2 separate regions of the Homo sapiens genome follow, and region 2 is linked to region 1. Evidence: promoter capture Hi-C in 16 types of primary human blood cells and fetal thymus (Javierre and others, 2016). All regions are on one chromosome and are shown on one strand. Each heading gives the region's core, a stretch centred on a gene start or on the middle of the fragment in contact. The rest is flanking DNA. Distances are from core to core; before and after follow the strand shown.

The links. Contacts are between HindIII fragments. The CHiCAGO score rates a contact against its expected background, and 5 or more counts as called.
Region 2: a fragment that was not itself captured here is called in contact with the fragment with the promoter of LNP1 in region 1 in 1 of 17 cell types (fetal thymus); the score reaches 5.5 in fetal thymus.

Annotation. Positions count from the first base shown.
Region 1 is chr3:100,398,394-100,404,447 of GRCh38, reverse strand. It overlaps LNP1 (leukemia NUP98 fusion partner 1), which reads right to left and starts at 2,909. Exons shown (of 4, transcript NM_001085451.2): 1 at 2,009-2,909. It overlaps TOMM70 (translocase of outer mitochondrial membrane 70), which reads left to right and starts at 3,359. Exons shown (of 12, transcript NM_014820.5): 1 at 3,359-3,822. The coding sequence starts at 3,499. RefSeq lists silencers at 2,891-2,970, 3,581-3,660 and enhancers at 3,031-3,120, 3,131-3,180, 3,231-3,340, 4,022-4,941. The HindIII fragment of the contact is 4,606 bases long and covers 1,061-5,666 here.
Region 2 is chr3:101,779,757-101,785,175 of GRCh38, reverse strand. It overlaps NXPE3 (neurexophilin and PC-esterase domain family member 3), which reads right to left. Exons shown (of 8, transcript NM_145037.4): 2 at 2,886-3,066; 3 at 2,396-2,516. Among named protein-coding and RNA genes, the nearest start is that of NXPE3, 3.3 kb to the right of the region's middle. RefSeq lists an enhancer at 5,243-5,292. The HindIII fragment of the contact is 3,390 bases long and covers 1,136-4,525 here.

The DNA.
Region 1 (6,054 bases), core at 1,660-4,159:
TTGTCACACTACATTTCAAGTGCTCAATAGCCACATGTGGCTAGTGGCTACCATATTGGACATCATAAATATAAATCATTTCCAGCATCATAGAAAGCTGTGATGGACAGCACTGATCTAGAGTTTGGTCAGAGCGTAGAAGAACCAGAAGACTCTATTCTCCTGAAGCCAAGGAAAAGAACATTTCAAGGAGAGAATAATCAGTGGTATCAAGTAAAAGTGGGTGACAGCCAACCTCCCCCACCCACAAAAAAACCACAATGAATTTTATGACTTCTAAAGCACTTTCAGCCTAATTATAAAGTTGTAAACTAGATTACAACAGATTTTGGATGAAATGGGTGCCAAATAAGTAACAGATGTAGACAATTCTTTTCAGTAATTTTTCAGTAAGGAAAAACAGAATGAAAACATCAGACAGCTGAAAGAGAATAGAGCTGTTCTATATGTACATGCTTAATATAAGCAGATTTGTGCACTGGCTGGAAGGTTTGGACACCAGTCAACCAGCTATTTACCAACTCTAGCAATCTGAAAGGCCTTTCATGTAGCAATGACAATTGAAGGGACAGAATTACATCATTTTAAAACAATAAGGAGCCTTAAAAATAATCTAATCCACCCCTCCTCACATTATAAAGAAAGCAGAGTTGCCCATGGTCACACACACAACTCAGTGGTATTAAAATTTAGAATAAGAATTCAGGTCAGCTGGGCATGGTGGCTTATGCCTGTATTCCCAGCACTTTGGGAGGCCGAGGCAGGTAGATCACCTGAGGTCAGGAGTTCAAGACCAGCTTGGCCAATATACAAAAAATTAGCCTGGCATGGTAGCAGCCGCCTATAATCCCAGCTACTGGGACGCTGAGGGAGGAGAATTGCTTGAAGCCTGCAGGCAGAGGCTGCAGTGAGCCAAGATGGCGCCATTGCACTCCAGCCTGGGCAACAAGAGCGAAACTCCATCTCAAAAAAAAAAAAAACTCAGGTCTTCCACAACCTAGTCCATTAGACTATCTCATTTAACTGCCTCCTAAGATACAGATCAAAGGTGAAGAAAGCTTCTTCAGTTGAGTTCCACTAATCTACCAAGAAAAAGATAATGTCTATGTTCACATATACAGAACTTTAATTTTTTAGAAATGAAAGGCAGTATTTTACTTCTTTACTTTAAAATTTAGAAAAACTGAGAACTAATCATCAAATATCTATTGCTTTGTAACAAACATCAAAAGAACTTTAAATATTCTCTAATTAAATCTTTACTATAGCCTGAGAGGTAGATGTTTTCACCATTTCACAGATTAGAAAAACATGCATCAGATCAGTAAGGTCCCAAAGCCAGTAAGCGACACTCTATTTGGCTCTACAGTACCATCAATTAGGAAATGGAGGAGAAAATGAGAGAATAGCATAGGCTAGAGAATGGAAATGAGATGTTTATCAAAGTATAAAAGTAACCAGAACAGATTCGTTTACTAATGCCAACCTTAAAAATAAAGCCAAACAAAATCAGGCCTTTAGATAAATATTAATCCAAAAAATGTTTCAAGAAAATAACACCGATTCCCTTTGGAGAGGGGAACTGTGCAGCTGAGGACAGGGACTGAAGGAAGACTTTTCACAGTAAACTCTGTAACTTTTGGAGTTTAACCGTAACAGTGTATTGCTTACTCCAATAAATAAGAAAAAGGTTTAAAAAAAAAACTTCAAATATGTTTTAGTTCCTATCAAGTTTGTAATTGTTAGCACTCTACAATCCTCCAAGAGGCCACAGCAAAACTGAAATTTCAGAAAAAAAAAAAAATCCTAACTTGTGTTCTGAAAAAGGCAAGGCAGAGCTTATATTAAGGGGCAGAAAATTTGCCTTTGGGGATTGGGGGATCAGGAGGGGAGAAAAGCCTATTGCCTGCAACGATCAACTCAATTCCACTGCTATTTTTAGCCCATTTTTTTAGTCTGTTGCTAAGAAACCCTATTGCCTGAAGGCAATTTACTAATAGGAACTTACATGAAGCAGGAGAAACCGGTGATCCTGAAATTCTTTCCAATTAGGCCATTCTATTTTAATCAGTCCATTCTGGTGCCACTTGATAAAATATCTCCTTTCAATCTTTATGTAGCTCTACTGTGATGTTGTTGCACTTAACAGCAAAACAATCATTTATGAAATCTTAATGTAAGGCTTCTGCAAACCAGTATACCAGAAATGGAGAACCATAGTTCTGGACTCTGATTTTTCTATTAATAGTTGTCTTCATGAAAATACCGTGTATTCCAAACAATACCTTGCAAGGTAATTTTATATTTTAAGAGATCTGGTGCAGAGCATCGGAAAAAGAGTTGATAAAGCTATTATAGATAAAAAGCTGTGAACTGAAATTACGATTTGGGAATGAGACGAGAAGAGGGCTGAGACTGCTACTGCAAAACAACCCGGGGGGCGTGCGGATCAGAGCGAGATGTGGGCTGACGCAGAAATCAGCTCAAGATACAAATACGCCAAGAAAGGCTCGAAGCCGGCGGGAACCCTGACGCTTCGCATTTCTACCAACTCAGTTTAAGAAACCCCTAACAACGCAGATGTCATCGCTTCGTTAATTGGTGCCGACGATGAGCCACAGCGACCACGCTCAAACCGTTTCGACTGCAGCCAACCTAGATGTGCCATTTCCACCTAGTCTTCTGCCATCGCTATCTCCCCTATAACCTCAAATTCGTCCAAACTAAAATCTCGCTATGTTAGTGATAAGAAGTTCAGTGATGCAGCAGCCTTCTTCAGCGGTGAGCTCTTTCCTCACACATCTTTAAAAGTCCTTCTAATCCGTTGGTTTCTCGGGCACGCGGGCAGAAAACCGTGCTAACGGCCACAGAGGTTCAAGAGGTGCCAACGTGGCTATAACTGGAAAACTGGATCCGAAATCGACCAGTAAACTGGGTAGCTCGGTCTACGCCCCGCCCACCACCCTTGCTAGCCAATAGCCTTCACAACTCTTCTGCCACTCCCGCCCATTCCAGTGCTGTGCCGCTGCTTTTTCTTCCACTCGGATCTCTTGAGCGCCCTTAGCCCGCTGTATACGCGCCCCTCCTCGGCTTCAGTAGGCAAGAGGGCCATCTGCCCTTCTTTCCTGAAGGTAGAGGGGACAACACCAGCTACGACGGGGACTCCAGAAGTCCATCTCCCGAACAGCAGCGGGGCGAAAAGAAAGAAAAAGGGTTTCCGAAGACTCCTACTCACACCCACGCTTTCCCTTAACCCGGAAGTGATTTCCGCCCCTCCTCTCCCTCTTCGGTTGATACTGGAGGAGAAGGACGGCCAGGTCTGGCCCGGCATGCCCTGGGCTTCCGGTGACCTCTGGCCCTTTTCTGTCGTCCGCTCTCTCTGCCTAGCGTGCTCGCTCGCTCATTGCTTTCCTTCCCTCCCTCGGTCTTCCTTCGCACGCTGTTTGGTGATTGTGGCGCTCGCGACAGACAGGGAGGCGGTGGCAGAGGACACTTGTCATGGCCGCCTCTAAACCTGTGGAGGCAGCGGTGGTCGCAGCCGCTGTACCGAGCTCCGGGAGTGGGGTGGGCGGCGGCGGGACTGCGGGCCCGGGCACGGGGGGGCTGCCGCGATGGCAGCTGGCTCTGGCGGTCGGGGCACCCCTGCTGCTGGGCGCGGGTGCCATATACCTGTGGAGTCGGCAGCAACGGCGCCGGGAGGCCAGAGGCCGGGGCGACGCCAGCGGCCTGAAGCGCAACAGCGAACGGAAGACCCCGGAGGGCAGGGCCAGTCCGGCCCCGGGCAGCGGACACCCTGAAGGTCCCGGTGCTCACTTGGACATGGTGAGAAGCAGCCCCAGGCCGTAGAGGAGGAAACTGGCTCGTGCAGCTTTTCCTTGGCGGGTTGTGTCAGTGAGGGGGCTTCCCATCAGACGGAAGCTGCCAAGCGGCAGCACAACACTTGGGTTTAGGGAGACTCATTTCTGGCTGCCAGTGGAGGGCATAGAGTAGCTCGATGACAGGTTACTGGCATTCTTTGACAGTTTGCTTTTGGTTTCAGAAAAATCCTTTGCTTTTCTTCTCAGTGACACAGCATTTATCCCTAGTGTTGTAGATGGGAGTGGGGCATTTGCAAATGTGATGATTGTATTTAATAAGTGAAGGAAGCTAAATTCGATTAACAATTGGTACATCGTGATACGAACTGTTTCTGTGATTTCCAAAGCCTACAACCTAATCGCTAAGAGCCTTTTAATAATGAGCCACTCCCCCTTTTGGAGTGTGTTTTTGCTGGGGGTAAGTGGGCAACTACAGTGACGGTTAGTTGACAAAAGCAAAACAAAAACAAAAACGATTAGATGGCTTTCTACATAGAAAAAGAAAGACTACACAGGTTCTAAAGAGTGAAATGGTGTTCAGTGGCATTTGTTTTACAGCCTCTGAACTGTAAGCAGAACTGTCAAGCTCCCAAGGCTCGTCCTCTCTCAGCAACCCCGAAGCCCCCTTGGCTGCAAGCACTCAGCGCCCGTAACCTCTCCTGCCATGCCCCAGCCCCAAGGTGTCCTTTTGCACTCCGGACCCCTTGGCCTTTGTCAGAAAACGCTCTGCACTGCACTGTCCCCTCTTGCTGCACAAGAGTAGCGGCCACAGCAATGCTCACCAGGCTTGGTTGCACACAGCCCCCTGCCCCAGGTCCAGGCCTACACACACATACAAAAAAAAAAAAAAAAAAAATGGGAGTGACTTCTTAAACTTTTTGATTGGAAGCATCTTAAATTCAGTTTTTCCATTTCACCTGGAAATGTACATGACCAAGCCTAATATGCATGATACAGTTTCTCTGATGTGAGGCCAAGCATTGGATTATTTAGTGAACTGCTTTGTATGGTTTTGGTGAACTGACTGTTAAATCCTTTTGGTATCTGACAGCTGTGCAGAGAATTAGTCTGGCTGCATTTGACAATACTGGGATTGGGTGTGGTGGATTTTCTCTGGGTCTGGAGTTGTTCAATGGTAGTACCAGAGTAAGTCGAGGTCAGAGAAACGTTTGGTCAAATATCTCCCAGTTTTATACATAAGTATATACAGTTGGTCAAGTAACTTCTAATTGTATCCAAGTGTATACACTTAAATATGTATGCAAGTCATTTCCATATTATACTATTCAGGTTGAATTTTTTTTTTTTTTTTGAGATGGAGTCTCACTTTGTTGCCCAGGCTGGAGTGCAGTGGTGCGATCTCAGCTCACCACCACCTCCGCCTCCTGGGTTCAAGCAGTTCTGCCTCAGCCTCCGGAATAGCTGGGACTACAGGCGCGCGCCACCATGCCCCGCTAATTTTTGTATTTTTAGTAGAGACGGGGTTTCACTGTGTTGGCCAGGCTGGTCTTGAACTCCTGACCTCAGGTGATCTGCCCATCTTGGCCTCCCAAAGTGCTGGGATTACAGGCGTGAGCCACCGCGCCCGGGCGAAGATATTTTTACTAGGATGTCAAATTAGCTTTAAAGGAAGTTTTGGTGTAGGAATGAACAAACTAGTATCTGCAGTGTGTGAGGCATTGTGCTAGGCCATGAGAAAGCCATATGATCTTTCCTATGGGAGAGTGAAGCATTACCTATTTTCTAAAAGGTTTATGACTGGATAGTAGAAGAACTTATGGACTGTGTTAGAACTAGGATTTGTAAGCTTTATAGTGGGCTCTCCAGCATTGTCACTTTGGGAAAGTCATTTTGTCTCCTTGACCTTAGCGTCATCCCTGTAGAATAAGAGGATTAAAATATTAGATCTCTTCTGTTTCTTTCAGTACTAAAAATTGATGATTCTCATTATGATCATTTATAATAGCTCACTGCTGCTATTAAAAGTAGTTATCAAGAGGATTATTTGAATTAATTATCACTTGTCTTACATCAATTTTGGATGTCTGAAATTCTCCAGTCATTTTCTATTTCGTTTGTTAATTTAGTTTTAATCATGGAAGAATAGTAGGTAAAATAAAAGATCCAAAAAGTTCTCAGTTCTGTAAACATTAAAAATAAAGATAGTTTCTATACATGAAACTAAATTTTTTTTTTT
Region 2 (5,419 bases), core at 1,581-4,080, 1.4 Mb before region 1:
CTATTTAGGTTTTAACTTTTAAGAAAGTAAGGAAGTATGTCTTCAAACTCAGAAATTGTGAAATAAAAGTAACTGCTAAATTTCTACAGAGACCTCAGTCAATAAAATCACTTCCCTTCCCCTTCCCTTTAAGTTATGTAACACTGCTACATTAATTACACTTAAAGAACATGAAGAGGAAACTGTTTTCATGAAGAGCTCTGGGATACTGTGCAAAGCATCCTGACATTCTCTGGCAAACAAGAAGTGCTACCCCTCTCATACAGAGGTATGGCAGGAGACGCGACACACTCTTTAGGTTTCCAGCTCTCCCCACCACATATGTGGTCCTGATGCTCCCTCAGCTACATGATAAGGCACAGGAAGACACACACCTGCCTGGAAGATGTGGGAGAGGAAAGTCAAGCTTGAAAAATGGGTAACAGGATCCCAAAATCCTTCATCACACCTGCTAGAGGCAGAGGACTTCAGAGTCAGCAGTGCCTAACTGTTCTCCCACGTAACAAATTCAAATGCTCTTTCCACTTGCCATTTTGATACAGGTAAACAGAAAATGTCCTAGTATTCTATCCCCAGGGAGACTTTCCATGAAGGGCAGGACACAGAAATAAAGGCAGAAAGGGTACAAAATCATGGTGCAGAGTATCTCAGAATAACTCAGCTGCATCAACTCTCCCCTCCACTTTGTGTTGGACCTGGCAAGCCCCCATTCTCTCACTCCTCTGCCTCACCTGTCTGAACCAGTCCCAACCACAATGACAATGCCAATCAGCTTCACAAAGGAGACAAGGGTGAGCCATTCCAACAAGCTCTCCATCCTCAGAGTTCCCATAGCACTTATTATTTTCACTTCTCTGCTGATCTCTATTTGTATTTTTTTCTCCCTCATGCTCCCTCTATTTGTATTTCTTATCTCTCAAACTAGACTATACCAATTATGACTGTATTTTTTTAAAAAACCATATATCAGAGAAAAGCAACTTAATGATACTGCATTATACTTTTCTGATTTGCTCAAGGTACTTAGTTCTTTACATGGTACACAATGATTCAACAATCTATGCAACAAATAATTATGGAGGCCTACGCTATACCACACACTGTACTAAGTGCCAGAAATTCCCCTTGAAAAGCTTACACTCATATTAGACAAGATGTCAGCCCCTTCTTAAGGAGAAATAAATCCACCAGTCCTGGCCACCTCCACAGGGATGCCAGGAAATGTGAAAGACTGTGCTTCTCCATTTCCTGACACCTCCTCTCTCCAATATCCAGACACTCATCCACCTCAAACTGTCTATAACTTCTTGGAAGAAACTGGCTGTAAAATAGAGGATAACTCTGTCATCAGGGTCCCAACTGTTCTGCCATTGAAATCCTTCTCAAAAAGTTGTCCATAAAAAAAAAATCAGGTTTCCACAATGGCCAGAGAGGGAAAAGACCAAAGATGGTAGTCCACAGGAATTTAGTTGCACCATAGGCAGGTGTGGTCATGCATTGTGTGGACACTAGCCATTTAAAGGACATCAGTGTGGTTCAGCCAGGCAGCAGCAGCACACAGCTGTCAGTGATGCAGAAAGAAGGCAAGGGCAGGAGACTCTAAAGCAAAAGAACTACAGGACCAGAGGCAGCAATGCAAGAAGTCCCTCCCAGCTAGAGGCTTCTACTGACAATAATTTAGGAGGATTGTGCCAGGAAAAGACCTGACTCTGTGCTGTAAGTAGAGCACTGACATTTGAGAGACCCATTTGTACACCTAAATAGATGTTGCGTGAGGCACACTAGACAGACCTCTCTTTGAAAAGATATATACCAGGCCAGGTGCAGTGGCTCACGCCTGTAATCCCAGCACTTTGGGAGGCCGAGGCAGGCGGATCACAAGGTCAGGAGATCGGGACCATCCTGGCTAACATGGTGAAACCTTGTCTCTACTAAAAATACAACAAATTAGCTGGGCGTGGTGGCGGGTGCCTGTAGTCCCAGCTACTCGGGAGGCTGAGGCAGGAGAACAGCGTGAACCTGGGAGGCGGAGCTTGCAGTGAGCGGAGATCACGCCACTGCACTCCAGCCTGGGTGACAGAGCGAGACTCCGTCTCAAAAAAAAAAGAAAAGATATATATTAAAATTTTAATAGTTGTCACCTCTTGGCAGTTTTTGTTTTCTCCTTTATCTGTATGTCCTAATTTTTCACCAGGAAATAAAAATCACAAATACAAAGAATAAAGCTGGGCCAGGCATGGTGGCTCACGCCAATAATCCCAACACTTTGGGAGGCCAAAACAGGAGGTTTGCTTGAGACCAGGAGTTTGAGACTAGCTGAGGCAAGATAGTGAGACCCCCAACTCCACACACACAAAAAATTTTTTTTTAATTAGCTGGGCATGGTAGTACGCACCTATAGTCCCAGTTACTCAGGAGGCTGAGGTAGGAGAATTGCTTGAGCCTGGGAGGTCGAGGCTGCAGTGAACCATGATCATCACACCAATGTACTCCAGCCTGGGCAACAGAGCAGGACTCTGTCTCAAAAAAAAATGAAATAAAATAAAGAATAAAACCAATTTCTAAAAGTAAAAATTAAAGATGAGACATAGCAGAAACAAAGCATTAAATCACATCTGTGAAATCAATTCAACTTAAACTGAAAGATTTTTAAGTAAAAGAAGAAAACTATTTCACGGCATGAGGTAATTGTAGTGTAAAAAAAAAACTGTAACAGGTTTTTGGTATTTTCCTATAAACATAAAACCTACGCATTATAACAGGAATGCTATTTGCAAGGAGCCTTAAAATCAAGTAAGAACAACAGTGTTGGCAGGGAATGATTATAGAAAAAAGTTCCTCAGATTAACCAAAAAAATAAAAATATATAATTCAATGTAATTTACCTTTTTTGGAAATTTTCCAAGAAGAGATGCTTACTGGAACTAGAAATTAGAAGTTACGTCTAACTTTCCTTCCAGCATGAAATTCTGAACTCAGGCAATTTTGACCAGAGGTCCTCATTTTTTTCATGCCACATGTGAAGCACACATAAATGTTTTTTACATTTCTATACAATTCTTCTTGCTGAAACAAAAATATGCATATGATATAAAGGTTAAAGATACTGAAAATGAAGTAAAGAAAAACATTAGAAATTAAGAGTACAATTTTACAGGCAAGAGAGTTATACATGATATAGTGGGAGGAGTGGGCATAGGAACGTTTCCTTTTCCTTACTAATAAAAAACAGTAATTTAAATAGTCTATTTAAATACATGAACTTCAACATGGTAAATCACTCTCAGACCTTGGCTGAAGGTCAAAACTTTATAAACAGCGATATAAGTGAAAAAATATAAACCAAAGATAAAAGCTCCAAATGTTATTTTTCTTAAAAACTATTATAATTATTTAGTTCAATGATCCAATGATCTTGTTTTCCCCTACAGAAAAAAGGGGTATCTGTACAGATCTAAAAGTTATTATTCAAGGAATCTAAACTTGAGTGATCCTGTTTTCAAATGTCAGACCACCACTTACTCATGCTTTATTTTTATAATATGTGCAAAGAACAAGCAAAAAGTTAAATGCATGCTCTGCCTTACATGTGGAACCCAGTATTTGTTGGAAGTGTTCTGCCAAATTTTTATTAAGCCTACTTCCATATCCAAGACTCATAGTGGCCAATCTAACTTCTTTATGGCCTGTGACAACAACCCCAGACTGCCATTAGGGTTCCTACCCCCATCTCACAAGAGAATTACAAAGCAGTCACTTACATCATTTGGAATTACAATTGTCAGTAACACAAATGAAATTCCTGAGTTCAATATTAAACAAAGAAAATCAGACAGCAACCCTATCCTCTGGGGAGCTAATGTTCTCAGGCAACCATTCCACAAAGATAATATATTATAGGACAACTGCATAGAAACTGTCCAGTTTCTGAGGCAGTCCCTATCCTAACTACTCTGACCTGTTGGCCAAATAAATGTAACTGTACTAGTCACAGCAAGTGTCTGGAACTTTAGTTCAGAATATATAGTTCAGAACAATAGTAAGAGACAAAAGCACAGATTTACATGGAAAATATCTACACTTAAATGCATATATTTCAAACTTTGCAAAGAGTAGCTGTATTTCATAGGATGCTGAGTAAGACCTTGAAACAGGGCAGGATCTACAGAATGAAGAACTGGAGACCCATCCAGGACCCTAACAATGATGGGTTAACCAAATAGGGTCAATCCTTGAAAAAAGATGAAGCAGGGGCAGTAGTCTGCAGGACTTGTTTCCACAGATTCCATTTCTCCTTCGTGTCCCGCAGCCTCACATGCACAAAGTGCTGACTCATCTGGACCTTCCCTTGCCCTTCTTCCAAAGCAGGGCCCCATGTATTCATGGAGGTTACATAGCAAGTGGAGAAGTAATAAAATCAGTTATATAAGTCACACTGTACTAAGTGCTATTTTTTAAATATTGAACACATTGATAGGTTGTGGTCCTCAACCCTGCATGAACATTAATAATCATCGTGGAAGCTTTTTAAAATACAAACAACTGGGCCCCACTCAAACAATTAAATCAGAATCTGTAGGAATAGGCCCAAGAAGTAGCTTTTTTTAAAAAGGTCCCTAGATGATTACAACATACAGCCAAGTGGGAGAACCACTAGTATAGAGTGGCCAGGGACTGTTATTCGTTTCAGTTGGTAAAAGGATGGCCTTTCCAAAATGATGTTTGAATTGTAACTTAAATTGTCAGGTCAGGACAACCCAATTCCCAGGCAATGGGGAAGGCTAACCCCACTTCAGTGATTTATCCCTTCGTTTCCTTTCTCAGTAACAAATAACAGCACTCTATTGGCCCCAAAGAGATTGTGAGGATAACAGACATGGAAAAAAAAATACTAAACAAATTCAAAGAAAAGCAGAACCCAAACACTACGGAGAAATAGTATACTGCTGCCTCCAAACAATTATCAGGGTCTGGGAGTCCTGCCAGTTTCAAATATATCCTGATGTTCCAAATGATAATTAACCACAGTGAGGAGCGGGGAGGCCCACCAAAGCAGTGTGATTCTTTATCTTTAGGAAATGTGGCAACAATCCCCCTTTAATGTAAATAATGAAAAGCAAAGAAAATTTACAATTTTGCACAAATGCTGCATAAATCCTGCCTCGGAACCCCTCTTATTACCACCCTAGTGGCCTTTGATCAGGCAGAAATGGGCAACAGGCCAGGGTCTCCATATCACACCTTGTAAAGTTACACTCGTTTCTCCCCATACGACCTGAATCTGATGTCCCCAAACGGCAGCTCAGTAAGGCCAGAACAGTCCACCGTGTGACAGCAGCGCCAGCCAAGAGGCAGCTGGTGCCCAGAGCAGCGATGAGCCGAGAGATATGAGATGGGCAGGGAGGCGTCGCCAAGTGCT